Linked DNA regions of Homo sapiens: region 1 is linked to region 2. Evidence: promoter capture Hi-C in 16 types of primary human blood cells and fetal thymus (Javierre and others, 2016). All regions are on one chromosome and are shown on one strand. Each heading gives the region's core, a stretch centred on a gene start or on the middle of the fragment in contact. The rest is flanking DNA. Distances are from core to core; before and after follow the strand shown.

Evidence for each region. Contacts are between HindIII fragments. The CHiCAGO score rates a contact against its expected background, and 5 or more counts as called.
Region 1: a fragment that was not itself captured here is called in contact with the fragment with the promoter of OARD1 in region 2 in 1 of 17 cell types (total CD4 T cells); the score reaches 7.0 in total CD4 T cells.

What each region holds. Positions count from the first base shown.
Region 1 is chr6:44,254,562-44,257,374 of GRCh38, reverse strand. It overlaps SLC35B2 (solute carrier family 35 member B2), which reads left to right. Exons shown (of 4, transcript NM_178148.4): 2 at 497-690; 3 at 879-1,033; 4 at 1,731-2,813. The coding sequence ends at 2,669. Among named protein-coding and RNA genes, the nearest start is that of SLC35B2, 1.6 kb to the left of the region's middle. RefSeq lists a silencer at 1-168 and enhancers at 1-258, 1,688-2,403. The HindIII fragment of the contact is 1,146 bases long and covers 911-2,056 here.
Region 2 is chr6:41,071,070-41,074,058 of GRCh38, reverse strand. It overlaps OARD1 (O-acyl-ADP-ribose deacylase 1), which reads left to right and starts at 1,703. Exons shown (of 6, transcript NM_001329686.2): 1 at 1,703-1,823; 2 at 2,384-2,463; 3 at 2,783-2,927. The coding sequence starts at 2,425. NFYA (nuclear transcription factor Y subunit alpha) reads right to left here and starts at 1,085. Exons shown (of 10, transcript NM_002505.5): 1 at 975-1,085. RefSeq lists silencers at 195-354, 385-1,014 and enhancers at 1,395-1,444, 1,475-1,684. The HindIII fragment of the contact is 4,776 bases long and covers 1-2,989 here.

The DNA.
Region 1 (2,813 bases), core at 234-2,733, 3.2 Mb before region 2:
CACGTGACCGAGCCCCCGGGCCACGTGACTGCCGCGCCTCAGCACGGGGGCCGGGTGGGGTCCCGGCTGCTCGGCCGTCGGCCAGCATATCGCTGCCCGGAGCCAGCGGGGATGGGAGCTGCGGCTTGGTTTTGTGCTCCTTGGGGAGCTTCGGGCGGAGGGGCTGGGGACCCTGACGTCCCGGATCGTGGAGGGGAGTGTGGGGGAAGGGGCGCTTCCTCTGACCTGAGCAGCCGGCTAGCGTTGGAGGGAACAGAGGAGACCTGTGTGGCCAGAGGGGCGGATCCGCCCCCGGGGAGGGAGGAAGCTCTGCCTGGCCAGCGCCGGCGCACCCCCTCCCCGAGAGAGAGAGAGAGAGAGAGGCTCTTTGTCCGGGCCGGAGCTGCAGCGGAGGGGGCGGGGAGGAGACTCCGGGCACTACTCCAGTGTGGTCCCCTCTGGAGGGCGGAGGGGATGAGGAGCTGCGCCCTAATCCTTATGTCCGCTTTCCTTACAGATGGTGGGCAGTGGTGGTGCTGGCTGCGTTCCCCTCCCTAGGGGCAGGTGGGGAGACTCCCGAAGCCCCTCCGGAGTCATGGACCCAGCTATGGTTCTTCCGATTTGTGGTGAATGCTGCTGGCTATGCCAGCTTTATGGTACCTGGCTACCTCCTGGTGCAGTACTTCAGGCGGAAGAACTACCTGGAGACCGGTGTGTGAAGAAAGGGCGGGGAAGTGAGCTAGGTCGGGAAAGAGGGTATTTGGCCAGCAGTCCAAACGGGATATGACTTGGAGAGGGCGGGAGGTCGGTAGGCCGGACAGCAGGGCAGGCTGGCTGCTCTGGGGAAGATGAAGTGCTATGGAGAAGATTTGGGGCTTGACTTTGTGTGCTTTCTTCAGGTAGGGGCCTCTGCTTTCCCCTGGTGAAAGCTTGTGTGTTTGGCAATGAGCCCAAGGCCTCTGATGAGGTTCCCCTGGCGCCCCGAACAGAGGCGGCAGAGACCACCCCGATGTGGCAGGCCCTGAAGCTGCTCTTCTGTGCCACAGGGCTCCAGGTGGGTAGGTGGGCTCAGCCTCTCTTCCTGGGTTGGATGCCGGTGGGCAGGGATTCTGTGAAGGTTTCCATTTTACCAGTCCCAGAGCTTTGCTGGCTGGTGTGTTTCGTGTCCTCCTCCCAGGGGCACACTGCACCTCCATCTTTGAGGTGTTTGGGGGAAATGCCCTTTTGTTTCTTCCTTTTCTCCTCTCCAGCACTGGTACTGAAAGTTCATGCTGTTATTTCAAGATGTCTAGTGCAGAAGAGAGGACTCCTCTTGCCCTATTCTCTGTGATTTCTACTGTGCCGTTATTATACTTCCTTCCTGCACTGGTGTCTCACATACTGTAAACCCACTGATAAAATTGTGGGGGAGCCATTCAGCCTTCCCCCAGTACTGCATGTGAGAGAGTGCTAACATGCTGACCCCATGGCATTTTGCAGTGGGTACTAGTTCCACCTTGAATATCATGTTGAACTACAGATACCCAATTCTGAGAGTTCTTGCCTCCCTGAATAGGTTTTTCACACACAGTTGATTCCCTACAAGGTGAATCCAGACTTAGGAGGGGAGAAGAAACTTCTACAGAGGAACCAAAAAGTGTATATTTTCCTTTGAATCACTTAGGCATAATCCTGAAGAGAGAGAGGTCAATTTTTGTCTACCTTTTCATTATCTTGCTTATTGTCTCCTTTGTCTCTACCTTCCCCAACAGGTGTCTTATCTGACTTGGGGTGTGCTGCAGGAAAGAGTGATGACCCGCAGCTATGGGGCCACAGCCACATCACCGGGTGAGCGCTTTACGGACTCGCAGTTCCTGGTGCTAATGAACCGAGTGCTGGCACTGATTGTGGCTGGCCTCTCCTGTGTTCTCTGCAAGCAGCCCCGGCATGGGGCACCCATGTACCGGTACTCCTTTGCCAGCCTGTCCAATGTGCTTAGCAGCTGGTGCCAATACGAAGCTCTTAAGTTCGTCAGCTTCCCCACCCAGGTGCTGGCCAAGGCCTCTAAGGTGATCCCTGTCATGCTGATGGGAAAGCTTGTGTCTCGGCGCAGCTACGAACACTGGGAGTACCTGACAGCCACCCTCATCTCCATTGGGGTCAGCATGTTTCTGCTATCCAGCGGACCAGAGCCCCGCAGCTCCCCAGCCACCACACTCTCAGGCCTCATCTTACTGGCAGGTTATATTGCTTTTGACAGCTTCACCTCAAACTGGCAGGATGCCCTGTTTGCCTATAAGATGTCATCGGTGCAGATGATGTTTGGGGTCAATTTCTTCTCCTGCCTCTTCACAGTGGGCTCACTGCTAGAACAGGGGGCCCTACTGGAGGGAACCCGCTTCATGGGGCGACACAGTGAGTTTGCTGCCCATGCCCTGCTACTCTCCATCTGCTCCGCATGTGGCCAGCTCTTCATCTTTTACACCATTGGGCAGTTTGGGGCTGCCGTCTTCACCATCATCATGACCCTCCGCCAGGCCTTTGCCATCCTTCTTTCCTGCCTTCTCTATGGCCACACTGTCACTGTGGTGGGAGGGCTGGGGGTGGCTGTGGTCTTTGCTGCCCTCCTGCTCAGAGTCTACGCGCGGGGCCGTCTAAAGCAACGGGGAAAGAAGGCTGTGCCTGTTGAGTCTCCTGTGCAGAAGGTTTGAGGGTGGAAAGGGCCTGAGGGGTGAAGTGAAATAGGACCCTCCCACCATCCCCTTCTGCTGTAACCTCTGAGGGAGCTGGCTGAAAGGGCAAAATGCAGGTGTTTTCTCAGTATCACAGACCAGCTCTGCAGCAGGGGATTGGGG
Region 2 (2,989 bases), core at 454-2,953:
GCAGTGGATAAGATTAGTAATATGAACAGCAAGTTGTGCAGCCTCCGGAAAGAATGCGCAAGGGTATCAATCTTCTAAGAGTGAGGTTCCAGGCACCGAATGGACTGGTCTTACAGCCCGGACAAGAAACGGAGACCGCTTGGTTGGGCTCCAAGACGGAGGTGTGCGGTCCTGCCACTGCGAACGGGGCGGGGAAGAGAGGAAATGACGAGCCAAAAGGGGTGGTAACGGCGCCGGGCCGGAGACCCGGGCGGAGCGGGCTGGGAGGAGGGGCGCGGCGGAGCAGGGGGAGTGGGCGAACTAACGGCCCCCTCTCCCCACCAGGGAGACAGCGGGGGCGGGCCCATAGGGCTCCGAGGCGTGGGCGGGCCAGCCCCGTTGCCAGCCGCACACGGGACCCCGCGGCCGCGGCGCGCACCCTCCCCAGGCCTCCCTCCCGACCTAGAGGGGCTGCAGATAAGACAGACCCGGCTCGCTGGGAGCGGGGAGCGGGGGGCGCGGGCCCCGGGGAGGCTTCCTGTCCCAAGGGCCGGAGAGTGGAGAGTGCAAGGGCAGGTTTAAGTTTGCGGCCAGAACGACCAGGAGGAAATCGCCGAGGCCCAGGGCGCGCATGTGTCCCCTAGTGTAGGGCCATTCGTGGCCCCAGGCCTGGGGCCTGAGAACCTGGGCCTGAGTCGGGGAACAGGGACGCATTCCCAACTGGCCCTGGCACCCTGCGAGGGTCGGAGCCCCGAGGTGCCTGCTCCCCGAGGCGCCATCCCCGCGCGGGGCGGCCCCTGCAGGCCTCGGCCGGGAGTGCCCCGAGGCGCTCGCAGGCCCCGGGCCGGGGCCGCTGGCCGCCCGGCTCGGCTAGGCTCAGCTCGACTCCCCGGGCTCGACGGGCGCCTGGGCCTCTCCTGAGTGGTCAGCGAGACCCGCCAATCGGGGCGCTGGGGCCGGCTCTGGGCCGCTGGATATTGGCTCCTCACACTCACCGTGCCTCGCTCCCCCGGTTCGCTGCCCGCGCTGATTGGCTCCAGTACCGGACTCCGAAACCCAATCAGAGGCTCCAGCCGCCGCTGCCGCCGCCACTGCCGCTGCCTAGCAAAATGGCGAACCCGAACAAAGGGGAATCGGGCCTCCCTCCAACCGCCTCCGCGCAGGCGCCTCTGAGGCCACGCCCACTAACTCCAGTTCAGGGATCGCCCCACCCCTTCGGAGGAGCAACGCGCAGGCGTTCCCTGAAGCCACGCCCACCTTCCCGCTTTGACACCACCCCCAGTGAAAGGAATACGCAGGCGCTTTCCAGACGCGCCAGACCCTTCAACTCAAAACGCTGCCTTGAGCTTAGTACTACGCAGGCGCTAACTAGCCCCTTTGCCAGCTGCCCACCCCTTTCCAAGTGGCCACTAGGACACACCCCTGCGGCTAATGCGCAAGCGCCACTTTTCCCGACTCGTGGGGCAGTTTCGTTACGCATGCGCGGGCGGCGGCGGGAAACCACGGAATTTACTGCCGGAAGTTCGGCGGCCTTCGCCAAAGAGTGTGGGCTCGGCTAGCAAGCTAGAGGGGCTCGTTTCCGCCCCGCTACCGGGCGGGGGCGGCCATCTTAGATGCGTGCAATTAAGGGCTTTGGCGGGATTGGCTCCGCGTTTGGGCTGGTCCGCTGCTCCCCACCTACCAGGGTCGGATCCGGAGCCCTTCCCCGCGGGGCGGGGACCTCCAAACAACCGACTCCTTTCCAGGTGAAGGGTGACTTGGGTACGTTGGGGCTTTGAGCGAGCCTCCCCGCACCCTCCCATAGGACCCCAGGACAGACTGCGTCCTCGCTGACCCGCCCTAGGGTAGGAGACAGAGAATGGGAGGCTTCAATAGACTCTTTCCTTCTCCCACGCACCCCCCAAAAAAGTGGGGGGTGAACGTTCCTTGAGAGGCCGCCTTCCTTTCCCCACGCCTGGGGCTCAGCACGCCAGTACCCTGTACACTCTGTGGTTGCGGCTTAACGGGACTGTGGCCAAGTCCCTTCTGTTTTCTTCTAAGCCAGACCCACTGGGGAAATACTTTTGCGTCGTGCAGAGAAAAGGAGACCGTCCTAAATCGGCCTTGCTCCGGAGTGGCCCTGGAGAAAGGAGGAGGCGTGTCTTAGGGATGGGCTTTGCTTCCGCTGACGGAGCGGGGCGCTCCAGGAAAGCACGAAATGAGAGCGGGTCGAGACAGCCTCCGAACCTAAGCGTTCTTCCTCTTTGCCCCAGAAGGGTTTTGTATTACGTCCCAGGGGCCGAACAAACTCACATTCATCGATAAACGTTGGGGAAAAAAGCCTATTAAGTGGTTGTACAGGGCAATCAGAATATTATATACTAAGGCTGCCTAAGCATTTTTACTTCCTTTTCCCTTCTCATAGCTGAAGAAACACTTAAATTCTGGAAATAGCGACTCAGTATCATGGCCAGCAGCCTTAATGAAGATCCAGAAGGAAGCAGAGTGCGTAACAACTATTGACTTATTGGTGAACTGAAATTCGTAATAATGGAGGTCAAAAGCATAAACACTTTTTAATTAAATTAATGATTGCATTATCTTTTTTTCTCTCTAGCTGATTTACTTTAAAAAGGCTCAAAATTCTAGGCAGGGATCATCCATTACTTTCCTTTTACACATGCTGTAATTGGTTTGGCTTTAAATCAGATTGGAGGAAGGGGTGCCGGGAGAGGTAGTCGTGGGGGACACAAAATACAGAAAAATAGCTTAGTATTTTACTGTATCTAATAAAACATTGTCTTTTCCTTTGCACATTTTTTAGATCACTTATGTGAAAGGAGACCTTTTTGCATGCCCGAAAACAGACTCTTTAGCCCACTGTATCAGTGAGGATTGTCGCATGGGCGCTGGGATAGCTGTCCTCTTTAAGAAGAAATTTGGAGGGGTGCAAGAACTTTTAAATCAACGTGAGTTTTGGAAACCACTTACCTGGTTTGCCCTGGCTAGAGCACCTTTTAATCTGTTACAC